Linked DNA regions of Homo sapiens: regions 2, 3 and 4 are each linked to region 1. The links are contacts of gene promoters, found by promoter capture Hi-C in blood cells and fetal thymus (Javierre and others, 2016). All regions are on one chromosome and are shown on one strand. Each heading gives the region's core, a stretch centred on a gene start or on the middle of the fragment in contact. The rest is flanking DNA. Distances are from core to core; before and after follow the strand shown. Region 1 holds the start of VTA1 (vesicle trafficking 1). Region 2 holds the start of ABRACL (ABRA C-terminal like). Region 3 overlaps CCDC28A (coiled-coil domain containing 28A). Region 4 has its middle 6.0 kb from the start of HECA.

What was found. The method cuts DNA at HindIII sites, captures the fragments that hold promoters and counts their contacts. A CHiCAGO score of 5 or more calls a contact.
Region 2: a contact is called between the fragment with the promoter of ABRACL here and the fragment with the promoter of VTA1 in region 1, in 6 of 17 cell types (total B cells, non-activated CD4 T cells, naive CD8 T cells and 3 more). The highest score is 8.3, in total B cells.
Region 3: a contact is called between a fragment that was not itself captured here and the fragment with the promoter of VTA1 in region 1, in 3 of 17 cell types (total B cells, total CD8 T cells and non-activated CD4 T cells). The highest score is 12.1, in total B cells.
Region 4: a contact is called between a fragment that was not itself captured here and the fragment with the promoter of VTA1 in region 1, in 1 of 17 cell types (total B cells). The highest score is 6.0, in total B cells.

What each region holds. Positions count from the first base shown.
Region 1 is chr6:142,144,459-142,149,418 of GRCh38, reverse strand. It overlaps VTA1 (vesicle trafficking 1), which reads right to left and starts at 2,156. Exons shown (of 8, transcript NM_016485.5): 1 at 2,020-2,156. The coding sequence starts at 2,131. It overlaps NMBR (neuromedin B receptor), which reads left to right and starts at 2,297. Exons shown (of 4, transcript NM_002511.4): 1 at 2,297-2,375. RefSeq lists enhancers at 1,455-1,975, 2,230-2,369, 2,133-2,427. The HindIII fragment of the contact is 1,973 bases long and covers 755-2,727 here.
Region 2 is chr6:139,026,928-139,031,512 of GRCh38, reverse strand. ABRACL (ABRA C-terminal like) reads right to left here and starts at 2,768. Exons shown (of 3, transcript NM_021243.3): 1 at 2,638-2,768. RefSeq lists silencers at 1,575-1,765, 1,815-2,184, 2,445-2,604 and enhancers at 985-1,804, 1,627-1,921. The HindIII fragment of the contact is 5,437 bases long and covers 1-4,478 here.
Region 3 is chr6:138,778,697-138,783,861 of GRCh38, reverse strand. It overlaps CCDC28A (coiled-coil domain containing 28A), which reads right to left. Exons shown (of 6, transcript NM_015439.3): 3 at 3,877-4,040. Among named protein-coding and RNA genes, the nearest start is that of CCDC28A, 7.5 kb to the right of the region's middle. The HindIII fragment of the contact is 570 bases long and covers 3,520-4,089 here.
Region 4 is chr6:139,126,581-139,131,661 of GRCh38, reverse strand. No RefSeq gene overlaps it. Among named protein-coding and RNA genes, the nearest start is that of HECA, 6.0 kb to the left of the region's middle. RefSeq lists an enhancer at 4,529-5,030. The HindIII fragment of the contact is 519 bases long and covers 1,870-2,388 here.

The sequences.
Region 1 (4,960 bases), core at 907-3,406:
TAAAAAGTTTAATAACATCAAATGTGATAGGCATATTAGTGTTCATTTTATTATTCCTTAAACTGTCTGCACATTACATATGCTTTTATATGTACATGTTTCATAACTAAAATTGTTAAGTGTCACCTGAGCAATAAAAATATTTCTTCATAAGCCTGATGAGAGCAGTTTCAGTGAAATACTGGGCATGAAAACCAGACTGCATGGGCTGAAAGGCTCTACAAGATAAAGGCGTAAAGCTAACTTATGGACAACTATTTCAAACTTACCTATAAGGCTGGAAAAGCAGAGCTGCAACTTTAGGGAATGATATGGTGAGAGTTTATGTTATATTTTTAAATAAAGGAAACTGGATTAGGTTTAGAAAAATCTAGAGGGAAAGGACGACAGTGAGTAAGGTGTCCCTGGTTTGTCACAAAGATACATGATACAGGGATCGGGAACAGGAATTTCCTTTAGGGATGAGAGATTCTTTGACCTTATCCCATCACTCCCAAGCCCCATCCACTCCAGTCACAATAGTCTACTTACTCCTCCTTCCAGCAAGCCTCTACTTCGGGACTTTTATAACCTCTATGGAGAATACTCTTTCCCAGATGGTGCAAGGTATGCCTTTCACTCTTTTATTTCCCCAAATGTCAATTCAGTGAAGTGTTCCTGACCACTATGAAACTGAAATCCCATCTGCACTCCCTGCCACCACTACTCCTGATACTCTTATTCCTTTTCCTTGCTCTATTTGTCTTCATAAGCTTTTAATACTCTATGTATGATAGACTCTATATTGTTGAAACTCTCTACCTCCATTGTATGTAAGCTCCAAAAATGCAGCAAATGTAGTCACAGCGCCTACTAATGCTTGATACAAAGGTAGCTCAATGAACACATACTGAATGAATATGGACCCTGCTTGAGGAAACTGAAGAACAAGTATAATAAAAATGATGCTGTAAAATTTGAACAAAATGAAGTAATGCACAGAGAATAATCAATTTGCTGCCCACAGAAGTGGTGACATTTGGGTTAGATCTTGAATCATGAGTTTGCCAAGTGCAAGAAAAAGGTGCACATTCCAAGAGAGTGGAAGATGGTAGGTCTGAAAAGGCCTTGCACATTTGAGAAACAGGGTACATTTGGAGTATGGCAGAGATAACAGTGACCAGATTTTAGCTAACCTTACAATATACACAACAATGGACGCATTATATCCAACTTCTCAACTCTAAATATCCTTTTCAGAATTATAATTGTCCAGTTACTTGTTTTATTTGCAGTAAAGTTAAGAGTACAGAATACAAAATAAAGTTAACACAGAATTACTGGCACTCCCTTTACTCACTACAAGTTTGAGCAGAGTTAACCTATATTTTTTTTAATCAAACTGTAAATTCAACGTATAACACTCAAAGTGAAAATACTGCTTTCAAAGGTCTCAACAGCGGGTATTATTCAAAGAAGTCAAAACTAAAAATTCTGCATGGTAGGAGAGAGCAGCTGGGTGGGGAAAGGTCAAATTCAACTGCTTATTTAGTAGCAGATACTCCCCATTTAACCAAATGAGTTTCTGATTGGGCTTGCATGCTGTCATAAATAATATTCACTTATTACTATGTTTTCAACTAGTCTATCGTCCTTTTATCCACATCACTCCTTCTTTCGGACACTCACCTTCGTTTTAAACCTAACTCAATTTATTTTCAGGATTCCTATTTGAGACAAGAAGCTCTTGTGTGTACACACACAGAGAAAACCTTGGAAGATTATATTCCACAGTTCAAGAGCCTGTGTAGTCAGTACTGGAGCATTTAAGCACAAGATAGGAGAAGCAGTGGACACCATGGTGTTTTGGGATTCCTACTGCCAGGGGGTGGGAACCCAGGGAGTTCCCTGGGTAGGCTCGAGGTCAAAGCTCAGGTTTAAAGCGAGGGGGGCGGGGCATGCCCCAAGAACCTCAGGGAGGTGTGTGGGCCCTAAAATGCAACTGGGAAAGAAAGGGCGCGGCCACTCGGAAAGACTCACAGTAATAAGCCACCACAGGGTCTCGCTTGTCATGCTCCTGAGCCGTCCTCAGATGATGCTGTATGCTCTTGAACTGTGCGGGGAGCGGGGGCAGCGGTGCAAGCGCGGCCATCTCTACTCCGAACTCACCACTTCCTACTCGCGCTCCACCGGCACTTCCGCTTCCGTCTGGGCGGTAGCGCGCACGAGCGTTCAGAGCAAATGCTGCCCACTCTTCCGTTGCTCAGCGACGTCAAGTCAACTACGGATCCCCAGCTGGGACAACCTCAGGGTGCTTGGCTCTCGGCGGTTAGAACCCACAGAAGACCCGAGCATTTTGGCGCTTATGCCGCGCATGGCGCTAGCGCTCTCTGCTGGTAGGAGGAAGGGTTTTTGTTTTGTTTTGCTTTTTTGTTTGGTTTGTTGTTTGTGGCAAAAGGAAGGATAGAAAAGGAAAAACAAGAAAATAATGTATGTTGACTGGGAGAAAGTATAAAGGCGAGAATTGCCTTTGGCGTCATTCAGGAATTACCACTTCCAGTTAATATGCCACATTAATATTCCATATAGCAGTGTCCTTTAGAAGCCTTTTTGATTTTAGAAACTTTAATTTCAATACTTGCATGAGAGAGAAATAATGTGTTTAAATTGTAAATTAAATTTTTCTATGTTGACATACTGGATAAAATAATCAGATTTCGCGCCAAATTAAGCTAAACATATGAAGCTTAAAGAAGATTGAACTTTTGTTCTCAGCTGGCTAGTACGTATTTTAGTGAATGAATAATCTGTAGATCACCTTTTTTTTTTCTGGAGAGTGATTAACAATTTGTAAAGTATTTTCATATTTATTATCTTGTCTTAATGTAAGATAGGGTGTTTGGGACGTTTTCAACGCTGGTAACTCTTAACCATTGTACAGTAGGCATCACTTTTCCTTCTACCCTCAATGACTTCAATTCTCTTCCTCTCCTCTCCATCCCTTACTTATATCTTTCAGGACTGTACACTTTATTTACTTCCTCCAATAACCTTCTTTATTTTATCTCAGTCCTCAGTTTTGACAATTCATCTTAAAACTAGTTTTCACTGAAATCACACTATCCCCAAGAGCCAAAATCTCCAGCTCGGAAATTCCCCTCTGCCTACTATTTTCTGATCACTCTCTCACCCCCAGAAGAAACCGCTCCATGTCCTCATATTATCCCACTCCACATACGTTGCCTAGACCTATTTGCAAAGTCCATCATCTTATTCTGGGTCGGGCTTTTTTACTCAGCCTGAAACTCAGTTCTGTCTTCTTCCCCAATCTCAGCGGCATATTTCCTACCACTGGAGAATGTATGGTTTCTTTCTCTTTCTCTTACTCCCACTATTTGGACTTTCCAGTCAAAAGTTGCTAGATTGGTAGAGAAATCAATGAAGAAAAGCAGAGTTGGATAACCATAACTGTTTTCTTTCTATACTCACAACTTTTCATTTATTTGTTTCCTATTACTTCTTGATTCTCAACCGCAGCTGCCCTTAAAGATCAACTTTAAAGCCCACTCCAGGCATTCTCACTTAATTGTTCTAGGTGGGATCCTAAATGTCAGTATCTTTAAAAGGTCCTCATGTAATTTTAATGTTACGTCTAGGGTTAAGGACCAGTGCTGTAGTCCACAGATGGTGTTTCAAACTTCTCTCGCTCTATTCAAGCTAGGCACTCAGCCCCAATTTCCTTGGTCTACAACAGCATTTCCTGCTATTGAGATTAAGGCCACCACCAGATATGAATTATTTTGCCTTGCCTCTACCACAACTTAAAGTAATAATAACTAGCTAGCAGCATTTGCTGAGCATCAACTATGTATCATGCATGTTTCTAGGGTCTTTATATTAATTTATTTAATTTGCACCACAACCCTATGAGGAACATATCATTATTATTTTACAGATGAGAAAAATAAGACACATAGAATCTAGATAACTTGCACTAGGTCACAGCCAGGAAGGATGAGTATTCCACATTAAAATCTAGGTATTTTGGTTTCAGAGCCTGTGCACCTAGCCATTACTACTTGACTATGATGTCTTTCTAGATCTTATGTTTTATCTTTTCTCTATTCCATCATCTTATGTCTGAGAAACAAATGTTCCTCTTCCTGGTAGAAGGCTGCACCCTCCTGTTACTCTCCTGATCTCCCCCTTCAGAAGTGAATTTTGCCACTCTTTCTCATTTGCATACATTCATGTGTACTCTTATTTGCATACCCTCATGAGCAGGACTGAGGGAAAAATAAGAAAGTGAAATGGTTGGAGTTGGATTTTACTCTCTGATCTGCCAACACATGCTCTTTTCTTTTCTTTCTTTTCTCCTTCCTTCCTTCTTTTTTTCTTTCTTTTTTTTTTTTTTTTTTTAGACAGGTTCTCACTCTGTCACCTAAGCTGGAGTGCAGCACACTATCAGAGCTCGCTGCAGTCTTGGACTCCTGGGCTCAAGGATCTTCTTGCCTCAGCCTCCTGAGTAACTGGGACCACAGGCACATAACACTATGGCTAATTATTATTATTTTGTTGCCTAGGCAGGTCTTGAACTCTTAGTCTCAAGTGATACTCCTGCCTCGGCCTCCCAAAGTGCTGAGATTACAGACAAGAGCCTCATGCTCTCTTCTTTCTAAATATGCTAACCCTTTCATGAGATGATAATTGATTTGATGGAGAACAGTACAGAGACAGTGTTAGTGTAACACACATTGAAATTATGCTATAAAACAAATATTAATGACTGTGAGGTTGCTTTTTCTTGTTTTACTATGATATTTTACTAGAAAGACCTACATTCTTCTTCTCCATTCATCTCAGACCAGTTTCTGAAGGATCTGACATCACCCTCTAGGACTGGGCTAGAACCTTGGCAAGTAAGGGGAGGGCAGAGCTGTAGAACAAAATAGGGGGTGAGGGCAACCATAGGAAGAAGAAA
Region 2 (4,585 bases), core at 1,519-4,018, 3.1 Mb after region 1:
GCTTGTGTTGGTTTGATTGAGTTTCTATTACTTGCACTCTAAAGAATCTTGACCCATAAAGTTAGCTTAGAGAAGAACTGCTGCTTTAAAAACAAAACAAAAAAAACTAAAGCTCTTTTTTATGTACTTATATGAATAGTCTTTGTGTTCCTCTACTGGGTAGGATGGGTAAGTGTAATAGAAAGGCAGATTTGAGAGCCATATAAAAAAGTTATCTAGCAATTAAAATTGCCCAACAATGAATAAAGTTTGCACCCTGTTCCTAGAAATATTAATGCAGACATAGTAAGGATCTGTGAGGGATGATGAGGAAATTAGCCTGTACTGGACAGAGGGAGAATGAAAATGTCCAAAGAAATTAAGGAACTTTCCAATTCTCTGATTCTCTGATTCCCGACCCCGGAAAGATGTTATCTCTTTAACACCCTTCTTCGCTCCTTCCTCCCACCTCCAGCAACATACTTCAGACTTAGCTCTCATTGAATAATGAGCATCAAAGGGGAAATTCATCTATTATATATAGTACGCATACCTGCATTATAGTAAGCAGATGTACGTTCATCCAATTTTAAGCATGAAAGGCAACCAGCGTTTCTTTATAATTAATTACACATCAGGCTCCTTATCTACGTTAATTCATGTAGTTCTAAGAACCTTGCAAGGCATTTATTTACCTCTATTTTAAGGATAACGAAACAGGGGTTAATGCCCCACAATTAAATGCTGTCTCTACCACATCGTGGTGGCTGTTTCCCCGCTTCCTCTTCCTCTTTTGCCATTATGCAAATACACTAAATATAATAGTGAGTGGTATTTGTATGAAACGTGACATGCTGAGCTCTTACCAAGGCAGAACACTTACAAAGCAAGAAAGGCTCCCTGCCCAGACCACCATAAATAGGAAAATAACAGGTTTAAAAACAATTGCTAGCATACATAATTTGACGTTTTATTTATTTATTATTTAGGAAGGAGAGGGACAAAGGGGGAAAAATACCTATTGTGACACAATCCTTTAAAGACCCATGGCCTTTTATAATAAGGACAGAATCCCAGGACTGCAGAGAGCAAGATGAAGAACAATGAAGGGGGCGGAGGGTGAAGAGAGGTTGATGGGTATAAACACAGAAGAAATAAGACCTGGTGTTGCATTGATCAGTGGGGTGACTATAGTTCACATTAATGGATTGTACACTTCCAAATGGCTAAAAGCAAGTTAAGTTGAATGTTCCTAGCATAAAGAAGAGATAAATATTTAGGGTGATGGATATACCAATTACCCTGATTTGGTTATACGAATGTAACACATTCTCACGAGTACCGTGAAACTATGTCTAAGAAAAAAAAAAAGAAAAGAACAATGAGGAGAGGTGAGAAGCAGAGCAAGTCTAAAGGGAAGAGCTTAATGGTGAGCGGCTGGACCAGAAGACAGGAAAAGGCTCCAGGGAAGGCGAGGTAGATGACGGCCAGGCACTCTAATTGTCGCAGAATCGATTTCGGCTTTGTGCGTGGGAAACACAAAGGAAGCGGAAAGTCGGAGGACTGGGCAGAACCCGAAACTCACCACCAATACACACTTTAGAATGTATTTAAGGACCCTCAGGGCATTGTTATTTTTCAAAAGTTTGGAGGCAATGCATGGAGATTTTCTAATATCCAAGGAAATAAAGCCTACTGGAATAGGTATGTCCGGAATCAGGAACCAACTTTACACACTCGGGCTGGGCACGTTTTCCCAGCCCTTCTTCGCAATCGCGGACAAGCAGCTGGTGCGGGTCAAAGGGTGACTGGGCTCCTTACTCCCTCCGGTCTGGGGCGCGCTCACTCCATATTTGGCCATTCTGCTACCAGCTTGGGGTTCTGCCTGGTAGAGGTCCCCTAACCCCGTGCCCTGCAGCCCATCATCACACGGTCACCGCCGGCACCAGTGCAGGGCTGGGGAGCGCGGGGCTGGGCCCCCCGTGGCGGGGCGGCACCGCTGGCGCCCGGGAAGGGCCGCGTCCCGGAAGTCTTTGTCTCCGCAGCTCCCGGCCCGGCGCCGCGGGTCTGCCTCCCCCGTGGCCCGGGCGCCCCGAAGCGCCGCGAGAGCGAGCACCCAACCCGGGCGACGAAAACGGACCCTGCCCCGGGCTCCACGAGCCCCTGGTGTCCCCTCACGACTCTGCACCCCCTGATCTGGAGCGCACAGAGCCGCACCCACCTCCGGCGCTGCAGAGTCCACTGCCCTGAGGCCACCACGTTCCTCGGGGCAGCCTCTCCTCTCGCCCCCAGCCCTTCCCCACCCAGCTCTGCAGAACTGGCTCCTGAACCACCGCCAAGTGCAAAGCCGACACGTCGCACCGCGGTAAAAATCGTTCCATTTCTGCCGGCTTCCCAGTCCGCCCCCGGCCGGCGAAACGTCACGTGAGCCGAGTGCGGAAGTCGACCCGAGAGGTGGGGGCGTGGGCGGCGCGCGCCCCACGGGACCCCAACCCGCGAGGTCTCGGCCCAGCCGGTCGCAGCTTCCGCGCGCCCTGAGCCCCCTCCCGGCCCCCTCCTGACCCGACTCTCACCGCAGCCCGCGGTGCCCGGCGGCGCACCACGGACACCCAGTCCATCCCTGCTACCTAAGCCACATCTGCCCGGGCGCTCACGCACCTCTCTGCGCGGTTTTCCTTCCCGCCGGAGAACTGGCGCCGCGTGGGTCTGGACCCGGTTACCTTCTTCAGTGCACTGGGGAGGGTGAGGCCAAGGAAGGAAGTGGCTGAGGCAAAGAGAAAGACGGCTGTGGAGGAGGAGGAGCAGGGTAGGGGGAAAAGTAAGTGTTTCTGCGCTCAAGAAAGGGGCCGCCCACACTCCCAGGGACAAGCCTATGAGGAGGAAACTCAGGGGAGGAGACGTCCAAGAAAGGGGCTGACTGCAGACAGGTGAAGCGCCCTGGGCTCCTAGGAAAACGGGCCCAGAGCCTGGATTACCTCACTTTTCCACCGTGCTACTCAGAGCCAAGGATCCCAGGATCTGCATCTGATCCTGGGCGTCGATTTCCTGATGGATTTCTCTCCCAACGTAAGAAACAAAGCGCCCTCAAATTGCTGAAGGCTGCTAGAAAGAACGTGGCATTCATGGGTTCCGGATGCCGGGGGCCTCCAGAAAACTACGACTCATGACTTAAAAATGGCTTAATTCGCAAAACAAAATGCAATCTTGAAAGCCAATTTGTCAGACTGCAAAGAAATTTTACTTGGACATAGATAGTTGTTGACCCTGGGTCAGTATCGGTTTCTTCCCTTGTTCATTCATTATTTCATACATTTAACTTCATAATTCAATTTATTCATGCTCCCTTTGTTTTAGTCACTGTTATTTTAATATATGCGTGTGTGAGAGAGAGATGCTTACCGTACCCAGAGAGTCCTTTTGGAAAGGAAACAGTTACCCAAACTATTTCTAGAGCAGGGGTTGCACAAATAACTACAAAAAACGTTCCTTACCCCCTCCCCACCCCCAGCCCAGCTAATTTAAATTAAGAGTGATCGCGTGACCCAAGAGCGCACAATCCGTGATGTAGTCATCATCCTGTGAGGTGACCTGGAGCAAACAGTTCTCATCAAACACGGACTCTGATAGTTAGTAAGCCAATCAGACACTCCCTTGGAAATGGAAAGTGGAGAATGCAGAGACGGAGCTGTCTGATGTAAGAGAAAGGTTGGAGCTAAGAGAGGGTAAGGCAGAAGGGGCCAAAATGGGCTTCGGATGCAAAACATTTGAGTAAGCAGAAACCAGGAGAATGTAGCAGCAGGTTGGGTGGAGGCACAAGTGGTAGAAGCCAGTCAAAGACAAGCTGAGACCAAGTGATGGAAGGAGAGCAACAAAGACCTGCTTCCCAGGGGCATGTGAGTGTTCAGTTCCCTGGGGCTGCACTGGATCCATCCACTTCCCACGCTTCATTCTAGTCTTTACGGTGAATACCTGTCTCCTGGGTGTGACTGAAGGAGTCTCTGTTCTGTAATCTTCAACAAAGGTCTGATTCTTCTAAGTGTCTCATGGCAGATAAAGTTTAAGGTGACTCCAAGATCTTTTCAGACCTATTTTTTTCTTTTACTTGTTTTATATTGTTACCAAAATGATTGAGGCCTATTTTTTTCTCACCAAAAGAAAGGTGAGAAGTTATAGTTTATATCTTTCACAGTCGACATAAGGCAAAAAATATATAATTCAAGAAAAATATATTTAGCAATTATCGAAGCAGGACCTCGCTATTTTGGCCTGTGACAGGGATCACAATTCATCAGTCAGATAATATCCAATGATAGGAATAATGAGTCTGGAGAGCACCGCTTCTGTTATGATTAGGTAATTAGTATTGCCCTAATTGCCAACCAAAGAAAAAGAAATAGGTTACTTTACCTAAAGAAGTAAACATCCTTGTTAATATAAAAATAAACTCACCCAAAAGATACTTTGTTTACACATGTGCTAAACTAAGTATAACACAAGCTTTATGTTAATCTATAAGGAATTACAATTTAAGAAAATTGTTTTGTCGGCTGGGCGCAGTGGCTCATGCCTGTAATCCTAACACTTTGGGAGGCCAAGGTGGACGGAT
Region 3 (5,165 bases), core at 2,555-5,054, 3.4 Mb after region 1:
ATGGTGGCTCACGCCTGTAATCTTAACACACTTTGAGAGGCCAAGGTGTGAGAACTGCTTGAGTCCAGGAGTTCAAGACCAATCTGTGAAACATGGTGAAACCTCATCTCTATAAAAAATACAAGGCCAGGCGCGGTGGCTCACGCCTGTAATCCCAGCACTTTGGGAGGCCGAGGCGGGTGGATCATGAGGTCAGGAGATCGAGACCATCCTGGCTAACATGGTGAAACCCCGTCTCCACTAAAAAATACAAAAAATTAGCCGGGCGTGGTGGTGGGCGCCTGTAGTCCCAGCTACTCGGGAGGCTGAGGCAGGAGAATGGCGTGAATCTGGGAGGCGAAGCTTGCAGTGAGCAGAGATCGCGCCACTGCACTCCAGCCTGGGCGAAAGAGCGAGACTCCATCTCAAAAAAAAAAAAAAAAAAAATTAGCTGGGTGTGGTGGTGTGTGCCTGCAGTACCAGCTACTTGGGAGGCTGAGGTGGGAGGATGGCTTGAGCTCAAGGAGGCCGAGGCTGCAGTGAGCTGTGATCATACCACTGCACTCCAGCCTGGGTGACAGAGACTCTATCTCAAAAAAAAAAAAAAAAAAAAAGTTCAATAACGACTTCAAATGTGAATCATTTTTTCAACCAATTATGTATTCTTCCTTTAAGAAATATAAATAAAAATATTTATGAAGCATGAAAAATGGCATGAAGCATGAGCAACACTATGTAATATTTTTAATTGTACACACAGTTGTCAAGACAACTTAATTGCTAAAGAATAGGTCTTACATTACATATTGACCAAGAGTCCTCTGAAGTGACATTATCTGCCCAGAGCAACTAATTTATACACATAACGTATTATCTTTTCATTCAGTTTAAGTACAGACTCTGCAATCCCTTGATAGTAGAATTTTTTAAAAAAAAAACCTTTCTGTTTTTCCTAAAGGTACTATACAGGTAAAATATACCTCAGCTAAAGTTGAAGTACATATCCTAAATAAATATGAATTAATGTAAATTATGCTAGTTTCCTCTAGCCAGCTTTATAACATCTTCATAAATGGACTATACGACATTATGTTAAGGACTACTAATGTTGAAGCTAGTTATGGCTCTCTCAAAATCGTCCTTTCTTCACAGTAAAATATGTCATATTTCCTCTATTTTAGTCATGTTTTTCAACATTAGTAACCTGGAAGGTCAAGTGGAAGAAACAGAAATATCTCAAGATACGTGTTTGTGTGTATGTATGTATGTTTGTGTTTATGTATGTAAATGTACAGTAAAAATATAAAGAGGTAGAAATCATATGGGAAAAGATGAGAGTCAGAGGACGGATCTAGGTGACCTACCATGAGAACAATAGAAGCTTCAGAGGCTAAAAAGGAAGAGATGGAAGAAAAATAATAAACAATAGAAAATATGTTACGTGAGATGAAAGATGAGTCAGCAGATATGAAGGGCTCACTGATTCCCAGGCAGATTGATGAGAAAAGACACAGTCCTAAGCATATCCTGGAAAATGCCTAACCTTTAAAGATAAAAGAAAAACATCTTTTAATCATCGAGACAGAAAAATATAAATTACCTGCTAAGAAAGACTCTGACTGGCAATGGAATTCTCATCTGCAACACTTATTATGAAGAGTAATCAGTAGGATAACAGACAAAGACAAGAAAGGACTTCAATCCAAAAACACAAAGGCAACATAGAGTAGGGGAGGAAAGGTGCTGGGAAAAAGCAAAGACGTGGAAGTGGTCCAAAGATTACATCTCAAGGGTAGGAGGGAAGAAGGGAAGAGAGGGGAAGTGAAAATACTCTGAAGATACCACCTTACTGGGATGGGCTAAAGCAAGGAGGTAGGGGTACAATAAAGTATTTTTGTGAAATAAATAATCTGCTTTTAATATCTTCTTTTCAAATATTAGCATAACCAAGACTGGAAACCCAGCAACTATTGAAAGAAAAGATACAGACATGTTTGAGAATGCAAAAAGTAAAAACTTTTACAAGGTTAAATATACCATAAACAAAGTGCACAGACACAACAAATTTGGTAGACAAAAATAAATACATAATAGAGGTCAGAGGGTTAGTATCTAAAACACAAAGGGCTCTTTACAAGTGACAACAACAAAAGGATAAATAACCAAGTAGAAAACTGACAAAAGGTCCTGAAAAGGACCTATCAAACAATCTACCAAACACACACGGATCTTCAAACTCAATTGTAATAAAAGACATCTCACTTTACACCAAGAGACTGGCAAAAATTAAAAGACGAATAATACCTACTGCTTGGCGGGAATTCAAGGAAAAGCATTTTTTCATAAATTATTTATGGAACCTAGAAGTGCGGTATTGTTCTTTTTGCAAAGCAATCTGCATACTTCTATTAAAGTTAAAATTACATATATGCTTTGACCCAGCAATCCCACTCATGAGAATCAATCCCAAAAGAATAGAGGCACCAGCCTAAAGATCTGTGTAAAAAGATGTTGACTATGCCATTGTGTTTGGTGGCTCAAAATGAGAAACAAAGTAATGCCTCTCAATAGGGACATAGTTGAATAAACTAGAGTATATTCACAACTTGGAATATTATGTTGCCATTAAAAAAGAATGAACTAGAGCAATCCTAGGTGCATTAGAGAGATTTCCATCAGATATTCTTTAGTGCAGGAAAGCAAGACACAGAATATCTTGTATACCATTTGTATTAAATAATGAAAATAAAAATATGAAAGGATATACACCTGGACTGTTAACAAATGGCTGGGATGAGGGGAAGTGGAAGTAGCAGAAGGGATAAGAGGGAATGGGGAAGTTAAGTAACAAAAACATTGGGGAGGGAAAGAATACTTTAAAAAATCAATATGTATGTGGACATTTATGCATTTGTATAAGATTATGCATCTTCTAAAAAACTGGGGAAGTTAAAATTTTTTAAAAAGATTATGCATATTATTGAAATTGCTTTTTAAAATATTGAGAAATAGGCCAGGCGCGGTGGCTCACGCCTGCGATCCCAGCACCTTGGGAGGCCGAGGCGGGCAGATCACAAGGTCAGGAGATGGAGACCCATCCTGGCTAACACGGTGAAACTCCGTCTCTAGTAAAAATACAAAAAATTAGCTGGCCGTGGCACATGGCTGTAGTCTCAGCTACTGGGGAGGTTGAGGCAGGAGAATCACTTGAACCCGAGAGGTGGAGGTTGCAGTGAGCCGAGATCGTGCCATGGAACTCTAGCCTGGGCGACAGAGCCAGACTCTGTCTCAAAAAAAAAAAAAAAAAAAATTGGGAAATAATCTTATCATTAGAAAAAGCTTACAAATAAGTTCCAGACTGCACATGAAAAATCTGACTATCTTTTGTGAACTCTGTGACTACGAAAAAATACCTATTCAGAATTTTTAATGGGACAATCAGTTAACTATTCTTATATCCTCATGAAAAAACAAGAAAACTGGATTCTTTTAATTCCTAACTTTAAATCAGGAATCCCAGGCAAGAAACAAGTTTAAGCTTAAGAGGGTAAGGGAAAATGATCTTGATACTTTCAAAACGAAGACACTAAGTCTAAAATATTTTAACTGACCAAGACTGTCCCTCTTATTTGTTAAACTTGCAAGATACTTATTCCATAATGGCAATCCTACTTCAACATTTCAACTAACCCTCCCTCTTAAAAAAAAACTTTTTCCCAGAAGTTTTAGAAGGCAAATTATATTCTAAGACAAAATCTAGGATGATTGCCTTTATGCCTGTGGGCTCTTTTTTTCTTAAAAGAAACTGGCACTTTGAAAAGAAGAGTAAAATACACACAGAAAACAGGATGCAAACATCTTAGAGAAAAAAATAATACAGAAACATCTATTGCTTACCAAATGCTTGAAGTTTTCCAGAGTGGAAATCATTCAAAAGACTGAGCAGCCCTCTCTCCATCTCCTGAACATCTGAGACATCAGTGAGGAAGGAGTGCTGGATCGGAGTTGACTGAGCGCCTTTGCCCTCTCCACCCTGAGGTTTGGTCTTTTCTTTCATCACTCTGTAAAGACGATGAAATTTAGGCTTTTTAGGCTATTCTAGATTAAGCTTTTGCTTAATTTTTTAGTGAAGTAAATGGAATTTCCCTTAAAAGCAAGAAATCAAATAGAGTCAATACTAAACAAAACCAGAAACTCCAAGCCAGAAACCAAAAGAAAAAAAAGGTTGTGAAAAACCTCAAACAAATGTATAAAATATAACTACAAAGGCATATAAAAAGTTTGATTAATACATTTATATAATATGCTAATTCTTTGGACTGCAGAAAAGAAAACTTGTAAGTCTGTATTATCCTATGCTTTACATTTCATTTCTCAGTAAAACATATTACACCTTTCCCTTCTAAACTTTATTTGTTCCTTGAACTCTCAGTAGTTCTACATATGGTTTTGGAGTCCCTACTCTGTAGCCAACATTATCCACAAATGCCCCGTCTAAAGAGAAGGGAAGATATTTAAATTCATAATCACCATGTAATGGAATACTAAAAACTTGTTATCATCCTTGACTCCTCTAACTTCCTAAGGCTCCTACATGCAGTCATGAAGTCCTATCAATTATACCCACAAAATATCTAATCTCTCCAGTTCTCTTTCTCCCATGCCACCATCCCATCTCTTAACCAAATAGCTTCCCAACCAGTCTCCCTATCTCTGTGATCCCTGATCTCCCTTCTCTCCCCACCGGGCAGCCAAGTCCATTTCCAAAAAGTAAAATCAGATCATACAATTTGCTTAATTAAAAATGCTTCAGTAGGCCGGGCACAGTGGCTCGTGCCTATAATTCCAACACTTTGGGAGGCCCAGGCAGGAGGATCACCTGAGATCAAGAGTTCAAGACCAACCTGGCCAACATGGCAAAACCCTGTCTCTACTAAAAATACAAAAATTAGCCTGGTGTGGTGGTGCACACCTGTAGTCCCAGCTACTTGGGAGGCTGAGGCAGGAGAATCCTTTGAACCCAGGAGGTGGAGGTTGCAGTGAGTTGAGATTGTACCACTGCACTCCAGCCTGGGTGACAGAGCGAGACTCCGTGTCAAAAAAAAAAAAAAAAGCTTTAGTAGCTTTGCATTGCCTGCTGAATATAATCTAATATCCCTAAGAAACCCTATCCTCATCTATGCTCT
Region 4 (5,081 bases), core at 880-3,379, 3.0 Mb after region 1:
CTTAGAAACTTCCAGAAGTATAAAGAACTCCAAGGAACTGAGGAAGCCACTCTGTTCTGTACATCTACACTTGCCTTCTCATTCTTCAATTTCCCTGATCAACTCATGCTCTGATATAAACTTCAAAAAAATTATACCTCTATCCTAGGTTTCCTTCCCCCAAACCTCACCCACCCTATTGCTCACTTCTCTGCGAAAACAAAATAAAGCACAGCAACAAATCAAGGGCATCAAAAGCAAACAATTTACACCCTTAAGAAAGGGGTGGGCTAATCTTCAGGCTGAACTGGAATAAGCAGTCATTGTTTCAGTGCCCTAATTTTGTTCATTTGACATTTTGTGGCTGTCTTCTGAGCTCTTGGGGTCAGCTAAGTTTGGTTAGGTTTAAAGTACAAAATATATGTGTTAAGGATAATTGAAAACTTAGAACATAGGTAAGAAGCCAAATATCCAAATACACCTTGATCGAAAAAATCATATTGGAACTCAGAAGGAATTCTGCAGATAACACAGTAATGCACACAAGAATATGTCCACAATTGAAACATAAGCTAAAAGGTACTAAAGCCTGATCTGCTAAAAAGTCACTTCAAATAAATACACCTGGAGCAATGCATTGTCTTCATGCATCAGTTTTTTCTTCTGCAAATAGCCTTTCCTATGGCCACAGGTTTTCTTTGAGGAATAATGACAATTGTGATTATAAAAACTTTGAAAAAATGGAATATTAAAGCAAATAATAATATTGATTAATAAATTCCATAGATCTACTCTCCCTTTAGGCTGTTCCCGATTACCAATATTAATATTTTTCTCAAATATTTGCCCTTAAAATCTCTTTTCCATCCTTTAGTTGTGACTTTTACATTATTTTCATAATCTATAAAAGCAGTCATAAAAAAGGGTCAGAATTTTTTTCAGTGATCCCTGAACTTGCTGCTTACTCGAACCTCTGTGCCTTCCTTGCTCATACTATTGTCCCAGTTCAGCATCAATACTATCTTAGGCCCCAGTAAACCCGAAAGAACGTTTCCTTCATGAGATTTATTTACTTTTTTTTTTTTTTTTTTTTTTTGGGACGGAGTCTCGCTCTGTCGCCAAGGCTGGAGCGCAGTAGCACAATCTCGGCTCACTGCAACCTCCACCTCCCGGGTTCAAGTGATTCTCCTGCCGCAGCCTCCTGAATAGCTGGGATTACAGGTTTGCGACACCATGCCCAGCTAATTTTTGTATTTTTAGTAGAGACGGGGTTTCACCATATTGGCCAGGCTGGTCTCGAACTCCTGACCTTAAGATCCACCCGCCTTGGCCTTCCAAAGTGCTGAGATTACAGGTGTGAGCCACCTAAGAGGCCGCGCCCGGCCTAAGAGATTTATTTTTATGTTTATTAACTTTGTTTACTGTCTGTCCTTCCACACTAGAATGCAAGTTTCAAGAGGGTGAGGATTTCTCTGTTAATCTTCTGTACCTAAAACAGGGCCTGGCATATAGTTAAGTGTTTAATACATATTCATTCAATAAAAGAGAATGGAGAGGAGCACCTAAAAGAATAATTTGAGCCAGATCTCATGAAGAAAAAAAGAATTCTTCTAAAACCACATTTTTATGTTCAGCTAGCATAATATTTAAACCAAAAAGGGATGGCTCAGTTTGGTCTAGATTTGTATAACAAGAACCCCTATAATAGCAATACCTTCATCAGCAATTGCAGTGGCCATGGAATTATCCATTTCTACACCTTGTATTTCTGATATCTCCTCTGGAGTGTCACTGAAATCTCAAAGATTTTTGTCATCTAGTTTTTATCAATATCCCCTATGTTTATGCCCAATTAAAATCAGCACTTTTCTATTCTGCCATTCTAAAGCTTGACTTAACCACAGTGCTTCTGAAGGCTGTCTGCAAGATTTGACTTAGATAATACAACATTGGCCCTCTCTAAATGCCTCTTTTAATATGGTGCTAATTATCTATTGCTGCCTAACAAATGACCCCACAATTTAACAGCTTAAAACAACAAACATTTATTATCTCACAGTTTCTGTGAATCAGTAATCTTGGGATGGCTTAGCTGAGTCCTCAGAAGGCTATAGTCAGCCAACTGGGGGAGGATCCATTTCCAAACTCAGTCCTAGGGTTGCGAGAAGGATTCAACATTCCTTGTGGGCTGCTGGCCCCAGACCTCCCCTCAGTTCTTTACCACAGAAACCTCAGCCTGGGGCAGCTCACAACAGGGCAGCTGGTTTCATCCAAGGGAGAAAGACAGGGAGCATGAGAGAGTAAACAAGACAGATGCCAATCTTTTTTGTAATCTAATCTCAGAAGTAACATCCATCATTTTGCTGTACTCTGTTTCTTGGAAGCAAGTCATCAGATTTAGCCAAAGCTTGGGTGGAGGAAATTACACAAGGGCATGAACACCAAGGGATGGGGATCATTAAAACCCATCTTAGGGCCGGGCACAGTGGCTCACGCCTGTAATCCCAGCACTTTGGGAAGCCAAGGCGGGTGGATCACGAGTTCAGGAGTTTGAGACGAGCCTGGCCAAGATGGTGAAATCCTGTCTCTACTAAAAATACCGAAATTAGCTGGGCGTGGTGGCACGCACCTGTAATCCCAGCTAATTGGGAGGCTGAGGCAGGAGAATCACTTGAACCCGGGAGGTGGAGGTTGCAGTGAGCCGAGATCATGCCACTGCGCTCCAGTCTGGGCGACAGAGTGAGACTCTGTTTCAACAACAACAACAACAAACCATCTTAGAAACTACCTACCACAAATATCTTCATATACTGCTTGCACTCTAAGTTCTCATTTTCAAGGGCTTCGAGTTTAGTTTATAAGATAAAAAGCATGGAAAAATTAAGACCTTATTCCAGTTCTTCCTTTCCACACTGCTGTTTCAACTAATGAATCTTTGATGATCTTGGATGATAAAATTTCATGAATTTACAATAACTTTTGCAAAAGATCTTTGGCTTAAGTGTTTCAGGCCTCTGTAGTTAAAGAACTATTGACTTTTAGAACAAACACAATCAGTGTAGTTAGTTCATTGTTGGATCTGAGGATCTATTTCAAGAACACCTATTTTTTTTCTAAGTGCTAAGGCTACTGCTCTGCTTGTTTCTGGAGTTAATTTTGATTGATCTTGGCTAGAATTTTCTCTCAAGATTCAGCTTCCTCCTTTATTTCTACTTGGAATGATTTCTACCAAGAATATCCTGAGGAACACTAGTTATATAAGACGTGCCTCTATTTCTGTGGTAAAATAAGTCTAGGAAACACTGTATATTGTATGAGTCACAATATATATTAGCATAGTAAAGATCCTAAAAGTCCAGCAGTAAAGAAACCTGTTTACTCTCAACTTAGAATTTCCCAAATGTATATAACCTATAAATCCTTTTACATGTAATGCTTATTAACATTCTACGGAAGTAGAGTCCTGCTGAATATTTTTAGGGGAAATAATGCCTTGGAACAACAACAACAAAAATCTACTTCTAGCTGGGCACAGTGGCTCACACCTGTAATCCCAGCACTTTGGGAGGCTGAGACAGGCAGATCACTTGAGGTCAGGAGTTTGAGACCAGCCTGGCCAACATGGTGAACCACCCCCGCCATCTCTACCAAAAATATAACAATTAGCTGGGTGTGGTGGTGCACTCCTATAATCCCAGCTACTCGGGAGGCTGAGGCAGGAGAATCTCTTGAACCTGAGAGGCGGAGGTTGTGGTGAGCCCAGATGGTGCCACTGCACTCCAGCCTGGGCGACAGAGTGAGACTCCATCTCAAAAAAAATAAGGAAGAAGAAAAAGAAAAGAAAACAATCTACTTCTGGCACTAGCAATCAGGTGAGTATTGATACAATGGTGAAAAGACAGATACTGGATCCCTCTTGTAAACAACCAGTTCTTTAGAAAACTTCTTGGGAAATATCTTCAAAACTATAAAACGGAAACTGTCAGAAGATATAATACATTAAGTACTAATTCTAAATGATGTAAACAGTTGAACATTCATGGTATTGCTTCCATTTTAAGAAACTTCAAATATGCTGTAATTGTTATAGGTAACAAAAATTTACCATCACATGAACAATCAGTTTCACATTTAGTCCAGTAATAAGTACTGCTATGTATGGTTCTGGAGTTCATTTCAATCAATCTCGAATAGAATTTTGTCTTAAGATTTCCTTTCCTCCTGCAGAATATTTGTTCTAAGTCCTTAAATGCAAACATAGCACTGCATGGATTAAAGATGAACACAAATGTGCTACTCCTCTCTTCAAAAGGTGGAGTCTGTTTGCCTTCCCCTTAAATCTAACCTGGCCTTGTGACTTGCTTTGACCAATTAGAAATGCAGCAAAAGTGCAATTGCTCTAGTCTGGACCCTAAATTTGCTTTTGCTCTCCCAAAAGCCAGCCACCATGCTGCAAAGAAACTTGAGCCAGACTATGGAATGATGAGAGGCCACATGGAGAGGGTGACAAAGACTCCGTCCTTGACCAAACTTGAGTCAGGCCCCTCTGATTCCTCTTTTTGACTAGGCCCCAACCTTGCCTCGTCCTTGGCCTGCTTAGTTCCGTTTTAGCAAGAATCTTGCTGGGTCAATTTCATAAAAATCCCCAACTTTCCGTATGAGATCAGCCTGGCCTGCCTTCAGCAAGAATCCTCTCAAGTCAGTTTGGCCACAATCCCCCTAACCTTGATGTTTCCTCTTAGTAACTGTCTATCCACTGACTCCCACCCCTGCTCCTTGGCTACAAATCCCCACTTTTCCTTGTTGTATTTGGAGTTGAGCCCAATCTCTCTCTCCTAATACAAAACTCCATGGTAGTAGTTCCCCTGAAAAGTTTGCATTACCATCTGTAACAAATGTCATGAATAACATTTTTCTTTAATAAAAGATCATGGACATGTGGAAGATGAGAAAGGATACTTGTGTTCCAGCCCCAGCCAAGCTCTTAGCTTCGTGGTTCTCAACCCCTGGCAATTTTGCCTTCAGGGACATTTAGCAATGTCCAGGGATATTTTTGGTTGTCACTTCTAGCATCTAGTAGGTTGAGGCCAGAGATGCTGCTC